2 separate regions of the Homo sapiens genome follow, and region 2 is linked to region 1. The links are contacts of gene promoters, found by promoter capture Hi-C in blood cells and fetal thymus (Javierre and others, 2016). All regions are on one chromosome and are shown on one strand. Each heading gives the region's core, a stretch centred on a gene start or on the middle of the fragment in contact. The rest is flanking DNA. Distances are from core to core; before and after follow the strand shown.

Region 1 (5,522 bases), core at 2,047-4,546:
ATTTAGTACATTCATGGTGTTGTGCACCCACCAACTCAATCTAATTCCAAAGCATTTTCATTACCCCCAAAAAGAAACCACATAGCGATTAAACAATTGCTCCCCTTGGTCCCTGGCAAACCACCAGGGTTTGTGTTCTGTCTCTATGGATTTATCTATTCCAGTATTTTATATAAACGGAATCATACACTATATGACATTTTGTGCCTTGTGTCTTTTGCTTAGCATAGAGTTTTCAAGGTTTATCAACTTTGTAGCACGTATCAGTACTTCATTCCTTTCTATGGTCAGGTAGTATCCATTGTTTGGATATGTCGCACTTTGTTATTCAGTTCATTGCTGATGGCCACTGGGCTGTGTGTTATTGTGAAGACTGCTGCTATGAACATGCATGTGCCAATACTAAAGTCCCTGCTTGGAATCCTTTGGTTATATACCCAGGAGTGGAATTGCTGGGTCAGAGGGTAATTTTTTGAGGGAACACCAAACTGTTTTCCACAGTGGCTGAACCATTTCACATTCCCGCCAGTGGCATACCAAGGGTTCCAATTTCTCCACATCCAATACTTGATGTTTTCCGTTTTTTGGATAGTAGCCATCCTAATGGGTGTGAAGTGGTATCTCATTGTGATTTCTTTCTTTCTATTTATTTAATTTATTTACTTATTAATTTATTTTTTTGAGACCGAGTCTCACTCTGTTGCCCAGGCTGGAGTGCAGCGGCATGATCTCGGCTTACTGCAACCTCTGCCTCCCAGGTTCAAGCGATGCTCATGCCTTAGCCTGCTGAGTAGCTGGGACTACAGGCATGAGCCACCCAAGCCGGGTTTTTTTTTTTTTTTTTTTTTTTTGTATTTTTAGTAGAGATGGGGTTTCACCATGTTGGTCAGTCTGGTCTCGAACTCCTGACCTCAGGTGATCCACCCACCTCAGCCTCCCAAAGTGCTGGGATTACAGGCGTGAGTCACCGCAACTGGCCTCATTGTGGTTTCAATTTAGTTTTCCTAATGCCTGATGATGTTAAGCATCTTTTTATGTGCATATTGGCCATTTGTGTATCTTCTTTGTAGAAACCTCTGTTCAAGTCCATTGTCCATTTTCTAATTGGGTTGTCTTTTTGTTGTCGAGTTGTAATATTCCATAATTAAAAAAACCTCTCGAGTAGCTGGGAGGCTGAGGCAGGAGAATGGCGTGAACCCGGGAGGCGGAGCCTGCAGTGAGCCAAGATCGCGCCACTGCACTCCAGCCTGGGCGACAGAGCGAGACTCCGTCTCAAAAGCAAAAACAAAAACAAAAACAAAAACTCTCCCGGGGTGGCCAGCGCCTTCTCAGGCCCTTTAATTCTCCACTCCTTCCACACATCAAATATATACAGCTTCGTATTTACAGTCCATGCAGAGGAGAACTGAGAGGCTTGGGGTCAGCTTTCTCCTCTTCTCTCCCAGGCACCTGCGAGCCCACCCCTAATCTAGAGCATGTGGAAGATGCCTGGAGATGACTATGCATTGCGGGTCTCCTGGGAAGTGAGGAAGGGAGGTGGGGAACAGGGGTGAGGTGGAGAAGTGACTTTCTAAGTCAGCTGAGAGAAGCGTTCTGGGCGAGGGGGAGTTGTTTCTTCTGGAAGCCCCGCTACCGGCAGGCCACAAAGCCACGCTGGAAGAGCAAGCTGCCAGTAGTAGATGGTTCCAAGGTTTCCCACGCCCCTGTAATTTCTGCAGCATTGGCGGGTTGGGTGGGAGTCTCCGGTCACCTTTCCCGCAGATCAGATCGCCCCGTCTAACTGGACTGTTCCTACTCTCAGGGGCACTCCTTCTTGTATGCTGAACTTCTAAAAGGAGGCCAGCGGGGGGCTGGCTCTCTGTAAACGGTGGGGCTGCGTTCATTGGCGTCCAGGGTTTCTTCTAAATGTAACTGCTTTGATTCCGCCTATCCCTAGGATTTCAAGTCACCGGTTCCACCCAGGTTTGGGTTCGACTGGACTTTCACCCTAAGTTCAATGGTAGCCCTGCTCCCAGGCCGCCGCAGCCCTCTTAGCCTCTGCCCGCAAGCCCTCTTTGGATGAACTGACCTGCTCCCTTTGGTATTCACACCCTCCCCCTCCAATCAGGCAATAACAACCTGGGGTCCAATTTTTAAACAGCCAGGCTCCGACATTTTCTTTCCCGCCCAACTCTCCACGCTGACACTTCTGAGGGTGGGGTGCCGGAAAAGGTGTCCCTCAGGCGGTGACGGACCGCACCCACAGGACATACAGGGCACACCCCTCCCAGGTGAAGGCCAGCGGCCCCCGGGGAGTTGAGGCTGAGGGAGGTCACTTCGGCTTCGCGACACCGTGAGCGCTTATCAGGAGTTCTCAGTAGGAAGCGCTTTCCTGCAGCCTCAGGCAGAGACCGTGCGTGCAAGGCGGGACCGACCGCAGGTGCAGAGGCCCCGGGCCTGCCCAAGGTCAGTCGAGGCGCGCGGATCGCTCTCGCCGCCACCCCCCACCCCCCACCCCCCATCTCCTCCACCCCCACCCCGCACACGGGGCAGAAGGACTGCGGCCAAGCAAACGATGGCCTCATTTCCAGATCGAATTGGTCGCAAATACGTTCCCTCGCCAGAAACTTTAAAAGGCCAGAAGAAAATAAACCGGATTCAGCTCCCTCTCATCTCCAAATCTCGGTTGGTAATACTAATGTTTCTCTTGCTGATTTTTTTTTCTTTTTTAACGAAACCTTCTCCCTTGTAAAAGCTGCGCACTTCTACCCAACCGCGCAAAGCGCGGCGGGAGCTTCGGTGGCGCTGCGCGCGTCAAGTGGGCCCCGCGCGCAGCTTTGGGACCAGCGAACCAAGAGCCGTCCCCCCCTGCCCCGCTGCCTACATCTGACCCCAGTTGGGAACCCAGTTTTTCCTCCATAGTCCTGTAGACTGTTCCCCTCATTCTGTTGGTCTAGAAGGGCACAAAGGACCGGAGGTGGGAGGGGACTTCCCTGGCTTAGTCCCCGCCCTGCGCCTGCTGCCCCGATGCTCCCAGAACCTGCGCAGCTAGCGGATCCCGTCCGACAGCTGTGCTGGGCGCCCGAGAGAGCGCACGGCTCAGCCCACCCCGTCCCTTCCCCGGCCAGGAGCCACTCACAAACTCAAAGATGAAGAGCAAGTCGGGCAAGGTGGTGAAGACCGAGAAGCCACTGGGCAGGGTGCTGCCCCCCGTCGCCGCTGCGGGGGCCATGACGGCGTGCTGGCGTCGGCCTTGGGACGGGACGAGCGCCGCTCAGACTCCGCGCAGACCTCTCGCTGGCTCCGCGGAGCCCAGTGGCCTGGGCGCCCCCGCGCGCGGGTTAAGAGCAGGGGAGCCCGGGGCAGAAGAGGGAGGAGCCCCGGCCGCCGCCCAACCCCGCCCCCCGCCCCACGCCCCGGGAGACCCGGCCCGAGCGCCGCGGGCACCGCCCTGAACCTCTTCGAGGCCCCGCTGCGGGCGTCCAGAGCTGGGGACTGTGGGTCTGACTCCTGCGTTCCAGCCGTGGGTGCCACCTCTTGCGGGAAGCAGGGCAAAACCACTTTGGTCAGGCGCTCCTCGTGCCTTTCTCCCTTCGTAGGTGACCAGCATCTCGTAAGAATGATAACCATCAGTAACCGGGACCCCAAACCTTCTCATCAAGGCACCTCTCGGGTCACCATTACTTTAACTTTGAATTTGGGTCTCCTTCATTTTTCCGCTGGATGCGTTAATGTGCGCGACCCACAGCTCCAGGCGGCGGTTTCCTGGCGGAACTGGACCACCGCCACAGGCTGGGGGTCTGCAGTGGGGGATGGGACCGGCCGCGGCCGCCGGCCCCTTCCGCGTCCACTGAGCCGGCGCTGGTTCGGCGCTGGGATCCTGCACCGGGCCTCTCTGCTTGGTGCTGCGCGTCTGCCTGAGAGTAGGAGGTTGCTCCCAGCTGTGCCGGCCCCAGCAGAAGGCTGCTGGTGGTGGTGCTGGGGCAGGTCGGCCTTGAATCCATGCGACAGGAAGGGACGTTACCAGAAGAGATTCATCGCTTTCTCTTGGTCTGGGCAGCCCGGGCCTTTTGAGGGTGGGACCGCTGCTACCCCCACCCCCAGGTTCTTTGCCTGCCTGTTGACTGCCGGTGTTTCATGTTTTGTTTCTCTGTTTCACTATTTTTTATTTTTTGCCTTAAAAAAAAAAGTATTACCATGCAGCAGTTGCCCATTTATTTTAATTTACTATTAATAGTGTGATTGCTGTGTTTCCTCCTACAAACACTGAAGCCTGAAATCCGCCCGAGTCCGGATTCTCGCCTGCCAAAAGGGAATTGGCCCCGCAACCTCCAGCTTAGACTCCCAACTCTTCTTTCTTTCCATTGGCAGCTGCTGCAGGCAGGACAAGGGGCTCCCCTTCTCTCCAGTGGGGCCTTCACCTCTCCCTGCTGCACAATTCTTCCTCCTTCCCAGTCCCTAGGGAGAGAAGTATATTCGTGGACGCATTTTCCAAAGCAAAAGTAGCACGCCCATCAGCTGGCCATTCTAAGTGCCTCTGGAAAGGGGCCAGGCATTTGAAATGAGAAAACCCCACTGTGCCTCTGTGAGCTGCCAGCCCGGACGGCTGCAACCAAGGTGCCATTGTGTCGGGTCCCCAGGGCAGCATCTCTCTGGACACAATGGGCTGTGGGACTTTAGGAGCCCAGGTCCTCATCCACCTTGGGCATCTCATAGCTCGTTAGTTGGACCTGCTGGCCTCTGAGAGGACATCTTCTTCCTCCCCAGGAGACCGTCCTGGGAACAAGCCTTAAAGCAAGGTGGCCACAGGAAGCCGCAGCCTGAAGAGAGGTGAGATGACCCTCAGGCAGTCCAGCGAAAGCTGCTTGGAGATTTCCTATCAGCACATACTAATTAAGAACAAGAAGATCCTATCAACTCCTAATAATGTCCTTACCTGGCCTGGAGGGCTTTTGTTTGTGGTTTGGTTTGGTGATTTCCTACTTATTTCAAGCCTTTGTTGCTAACTCATTCCTACTTGGGCCTGAGCCTTTGGGGAAAGCTCGCTCCCAGGGGCAACTCAGTGGAGCTCAGCAGTCCCAGCCCTCCTTTGATAAGGCAGAGGGGCAGCAATCTCTGAAAGAGGCTTCAGAGGATGAGGAAGGCAGCCCGGCCAGGGTCAAGGGGGTTTGTCCCTATCTCTGTGACCCCCTCCTCCCACCTGGAGTTCTCCGCTCGACGTTCATCTTCCTGACCAGACTCTACCCTCGGCAGGGCATCCTCCAGCCACCCCCATCTGCCCCTCTCCTTCCCCACCCTAGCATATGCTCAGCACCCAAGCAGAGCCCAGCCTCTGGTGAGTGCTCATTAAACCTTAGCCAATGGTGGATGACTCCAGCTTTGTCTGTGCTTGACCACCAGAGGAGGACATGGAAGTGCCCTGTTTGGATGTAAGAAGCACTGGTGAGGAGTGAGGCACTGGTAATAGAGAGACATTGGTAAATAGAGAGGCATTGGTGAGAGAGAGGCGTTGGTGAGACAGAGAGAGGCACTGGTGAGAGAGA
Region 2 (5,522 bases), core at 936-3,435, 34 kb before region 1:
ACATGCTCAGCAAGACAGGCTTCAGAGCAGGAAGGAGTGAACAGACCTGAACAGCCAGCCTCTTCCCAAACCTGGACCCTATGTCAGGACCAGGCCACTGTTGGGGCCAGGGGACCTGCCTGTCTGGACTGGGAAATGCTTGCATTCTATTCCCCTGAAACAATACAGAAAGCAAAACAGGATCAGGCAACTGTCTTCTTTACTAAAGTCTCATCTGAGTCCTGTTAGGTCAAAAGATAGCACCATTCCTGTTTGGGGTGTAAAGTAAACACTTTTTTTTCTTTTTTGTTTGGAGACAGGATCTTGCTCTGTTGCCCAGGCTGGAGTGCAGTGGCCCAATCATAGCTCACTGCAGTCTCAACCTTCTGGCCTCAGGAGATCCTCCCACCTCAGCCTCCTGAATAGCTGGAAACACAGATGCACACCACCATGCTCAGATAATTAATTTTTTTTTTGTAGAAGCAGGGTCTCCCTGTGTTGCCCAGGCTGGTCTCAAACTCCTAACCTCAAGCGAAGCTCCCACCAAAGTACTGGGATTACAGGCAAGAGCCACTGCACCCCACCAGTAAGTTTTACTGTAAAACATTAGTTTTTTCTTTCCAAATCCCCAAATACTCCCCATTCTGGTGCCCCATGCACCAGAGGTTCCCTGGCCAAAGTGCAGGCATCGTTGGGAACAATAGCCCTTTTAAGCCTCAGAGGGAAGCCGGGACAGCGGAGAGCGTGCATCCAGCGCAGTCTGCGTACAGGGCTAGGGTGGGAAGAGTGCTCAAGGGAAGACAGACTCACAGGGAGACAGGGAACACTGAGGATGCAGAAGTCTACGTGATGCCTCTGCCTGGCTTCATCTGTGTGTGGCATTAGCCAGGCACGATTCAGCCTCAGAGAACCTGCTTCCTCATCTGCATGGTGGAAATGATCGTAGCATCTCCCTAGGAGGATTGTCTTGAGGTGACAGTGGAGAACACGTGCGGAGCTCTTAGTTCCACTTATATGGAGAATGCACACCGGCCGCTGTGGGGCCTCATGTTTGATACAGGAGGTAACGACATTCAGCAGATGGAGCGAGTGGGATGGGGCACGAGACTGACCATGTGGCCAGCTTTCTCTGTCCCTCCTTAACCTCTTTCTACCCACCTTCCTGCCAAGTGAGGCCAGAAACCCTGCCCCTTCCATTCCAGCAGGGACAGTGCCAGTGTCCGAGAGTGTACTCTGTGGGGACAGCCACCAGAGAACTGGGTATCTTTAGCCTTCGCCTGTCAGCACCAGAGCCAGAAAACTGCCCACCTCAGAAAGTAGGGTGAAGGGCAGGGCAGGCCCTATCCCAGCATCTGGCCACCCAGGCTGGCTTGGCTGGGCACACCATCTCGGTGCACATTCCTGTCATTGTTTGTCCAAGATGGGGCACGGGCCTAGATTGGAGGCCCCAGCCCCGATTGTAGAAGTGAGTAGTCCATGAAAATATGCTGTCCTTCCACCTGCACTTCCCCTGCGGGCCACCGTCTCCTGGCTTGGTGGCAGGGATGAACCATGGGTGGGGCCCTCAGGGTCAATTCTCTTCCTCTTCCCTCGGCCAACAGCTGTCCTGGGGGGCTGCGTGGGGCCTCTCAGTCCTCCTAGCCTGTTGAGGGTGGCTATGGGTGAGCATCAGCTGAGACCCAGCCATGGTGTCTGGGAGGCAGTGGAGTATCGGGAGTGGGGTCTGGAGGGTGGGGGCTTGCAGGCTTAAGGACAGCAGGTGGGGTGTGGGGAGCCAGGATGCCCAGAAGCAGGAGTGGGACAGGTGTAGCGCCCTGGAGGAGGGAGTATGTGAGCTGGGCAGGGTTTAAGCCAGTGGATTACATCCTCATCACCACCATCGTGCCACCTAACACCCATGGTACAACACACCTGGACTGTGCTGGGTGATGGGTGCATGATGTGAGGGGCAGCCGTGCCCCTCATTCCAGCCACCGGTGGAGGTCTGTCCTGCATGATCCACAGGTGTCACCAGCTCTCACCCTAGAAAGTGGAGGCCACGGGGCCAGACTCCCAGTGGGCAATAGACCTGGAAGTTGCCTTCAGTGAGCCTCCCCAGCCCCTTTTTGCCCCCTTGCCCTGTCTTTATCGTGGGTTACTCCTTGCTCTCACCAGCCCCCGTCTCTCCCTCTGCCTCAGTGTGGGAAGCAGTGAGGTACCATAGGAGAGGTGGGCAGCAGGGGCTCACAGGGGAGGGAGCCTGGGAGGCGGGGCCGAGGCCACCCTGGCGCTGACTTGTCTGGTGCCCTGGGCCAGACTCCCACCCTCCTGGGACCTGGGCTCTTCATCTGTAAATTCCTGGGCTTCTCCCGGTGCTGCTGTGCCGGTGGCTGAGGCTTCTCTGGCTTGGCTGCTCATGCCCTGGGCGAGGGAGAGAAGAGGCCCGCCCAGTGACTGTGACCCTCTCAGGCCCTCTGGGAGCTCCTCCCTCAGTGTCAGGGGCTGTGGCAGGAATGGCCTCTCCCCAAAGCACTGGAGCTTGGTTTCCTAAGTGGGACTGTTTTAAACTATGTCATGGCTGATTAAACGTTCAGTTCTATGGGAAAAAGCAAAAGTACCAGCCCAAGTTCATGACAGAATGCCAACAACATGGTTAATGAATAAGCATAATGTGAATAGCCATCGTCTGCCCAGGCTGGAAAGTTCAGGATCATTCTAGACCTTCTTTTTCTTCATTCCCACAATGATAACAGCGGCCGGTACTTCCTGAGATGTCCTTGGTCCCAGGGACTTATCTGAACCGAGTCCTCAAATCCTCCCAGCTGCCTGTGAGGCAGAATTAATATTCCCATTCTGCAGACAGGAAGCTGAGGCTGAGAGGGACCACACACTTGGGCTGGCTCAGGGATCCATGCCCTCGGCCACTCCCTTTGGCTGCTCTCAGCTCACCAAGATCTGGCCACATCTCTCCTATCTCCCTGGTCCAGCCTGCCCGCTCACACCCACAGCATCTCTCGGCTGGATGGCTGCCACTGCCCAAGAGATACCCCCACAGGGCTTGCCCCTTGGGTGAAAGCCAAGCTCAGCTCTGCCTCCAGGACCAGCCCAGGCCCTCGTAACCTCCTAAGACACCCCCTCACCCCCCAGCCTTCGACACACACCTGGCCCAGATCACCCTTGCTCTGCCCAGGGAAGCCCTTTCCGACTTCTTTGTATGGCAAAGTCTCCCTCATCTCAGACATCCCTCCGCAGCAGGTTGGGCTCCTGGCTAGGTTTTCCTGACACTCCTCAAGTGCCATTTGGAGTTTTCAGTATTGGTAAAGTCAGCATTGTGAGTATGAAGGACATCTTAGCATGTGCCCCCTGCTCCCAGAGAGACAAGGACCCTGTCACAGTGAGACATGAAGCATGACGGTTAGCCTCAGGGGCCCGGGAGCCACTCTGCTGGAATCAGGATCCATGCCTACTTGCTGTGTGACCTTGGGTAAGTCACTTAACCTCTCTGTGCCTCAGAGTCCTCATCTAAATTGTATCTACCACATAAGGTCGTCACAGGATTAAGTGAAGAAGTAAAGCACTTCAAGCAGCACCTGGCACCCAGCGGCGCTGGGAAGTCATCTCACGCCGTATGTCATGGGTGCCTGCCTCCAGCTGAAGGAAGTCCTGGCAGCCGAGCACCCCGTGTGAATCCAACCTCTCTGGTACCCTCTAGAGAGCCTGGCAGTGTGATGATCTCGTTACCTGTGAAGGAAGAGAGCAGCCACAGCTAGGAACCCCCGTGTCTGCTCCAGCGCCCCAGCTCTTAGAAGCTGCTGTCGCCGGGTATGATGCAGACAGAACAAAGGCCACTGAATAACGCGGAGTAGGAAAAATCACTTCAAATCTGTTTTTTCAAATCGCGTTATTTTAAATGCCCTGGGCGGATGCCCACGTGTGCAGGGACACTCAGCCTGTCCAGAGGCGCTTTGTCTCTTTGAAAGGCCTCTTTGTAACCCCACACCGGCCCCAGTTGATACCCAGAACAACAGGCCCTTGTGTGGGCCCCGAAGGCAGGCTCGCTCCAGCCCACGGCTGGCAGCGCAAACCCTTTGCTGTCTCTTTAAGGTCAGCGTAAGGCAGCCTTCAATCCTCCATTTGGGCTGCTTTGCAAAAATAGTCCTACAACCTGCGGGAGTGGGGGTACGAGATGCTTTTTAGAATTCGGCTCTCAAATGTTGAAGAAGCCCGGCTCATATAAGCTGTGTCTTCTCCAGAAGGGAAGATCGATGGGGCTCTATCATGTGCAGAATGGGGGGCAGGAGCTTAGCTCCCTGGGACACCTCCCAGGCCACCCTGCCCTGCACAAGGAAGGCCACCAGGAGGATACTCCCAGGATCGCCCCCTGAAGCAAGGGGGCCACAGCCTGGGAAGTCACAGGCCATAGCCTCCAAAATGTCCTGGCTGGATTTGGCTTATAGTTACCTTTTGCTGATTGCTCTCTGGTGATGTGCCCCCTCCCCACACACGTGTCCATAATGAATCATAAGCCCCATGGAGCTGCTCGAGGGCCATGGAAAGCAAGAAGGAATGCAGTGACCAAATCACTGTCCAGTGAAATCTACACCAGAGCGCTCCCAGACACTGTACCAAACCCTGGCTGCACCCCCATCAGAAACTCCCTTTCACCTGGCATCTGTCCACCACAAGGTCTCATCTCACTGTCATTTCCTGAGAGGCCAGAGGACAGACATGCATGAGCACAGGTCAGCTGGAGCGGCCCTGGGGCGCTGGGCCTGCTCACTTATGCGGCCGTGTTTATTGAGCACTGGCCCCGTGTCCCTCCTGGCGCCTGACCGGGCACTGCACGTTCCTGGGTCCATGGACAGCACACAAGCCACAGGGACAATCAGGGGAGGGGGAAGCCCTTAGCAGTGACCCACGAGGCCCAGTTGGTCCAAACCCCTCTGTTCTCTTCTCTGCTGGGCCCACAACTTGGTGGGGACAAAAGTGGGGTGACTGACTATGGTCTGGCCTATTCTGCAAGCTTTGGCTCTGAGTCACAGCATACACAATGGCCTCTTCCTAATCCTTTCTCAGGCTTGTGGATAGATTTAGCTCCTTATTCTGTGAGCTTAAAAATACCCAGTTCCTCACCTTTGCAAAGTATCAGCTGGACTTTGGCTTTGGCTCTATGGGGGCTGCAAAGTGGACCCAGCAGCTACCTGAGCTGGCGTGGCTGTGGCTGCAGCTCTGAGCAGCCAGCTCTTCTCCAGGAGACGCTGAGTGCAGGGCCTGGCCGTGGCCGTGGGCTGCTATAGGCCCTGCTGGTGGACTGGGGCTATCCTAAGTGCCTGGCTTCATCACTCTCTGAAGGCTCCTGCCTACCAGCATCCTGTCAACCACTAAATCTCACTGCCACTTCCTGGGAGACGGGAGGACGGCCCGCGTGAGGACAGGTCTGGGTGCCTTGAGGTCATATCAAGCCCAGGGCTTCAGGGCCAGAGGGAGGCGGCCCTCAGTCCAACTGCACTTCTCACCACCTGCACCAGCCTCAGTTTTCTCACCTGTAGGATGACGTGGCCACT

The links. The method cuts DNA at HindIII sites, captures the fragments that hold promoters and counts their contacts. A CHiCAGO score of 5 or more calls a contact.
Region 2: a fragment that was not itself captured here is called in contact with the fragment with the promoter of MAL in region 1 in 1 of 17 cell types (fetal thymus); the score reaches 5.8 in fetal thymus.

The regions. Positions count from the first base shown.
Region 1 is chr2:95,023,482-95,029,003 of GRCh38, reverse strand. It overlaps MAL (mal, T cell differentiation protein (MAL blood group)), which reads right to left and starts at 3,296. Exons shown (of 4, transcript NM_002371.4): 1 at 3,119-3,296. The coding sequence starts at 3,211. MAL-AS1 (MAL antisense RNA 1) reads left to right here and starts at 1,975. Exons shown (of 8, transcript XR_007087136.1): 1 at 1,975-2,445; 2 at 2,571-2,664; 3 at 4,747-4,809. RefSeq lists an enhancer at 2,189-2,912 and a silencer at 3,267-3,396. The HindIII fragment of the contact is 7,953 bases long and covers 1-5,522 here.
Region 2 is chr2:95,056,146-95,061,667 of GRCh38, reverse strand. No RefSeq gene overlaps it. Among named protein-coding and RNA genes, the nearest start is that of MAL-AS1, 32 kb to the right of the region's middle. The HindIII fragment of the contact is 5,597 bases long and covers 1-4,983 here.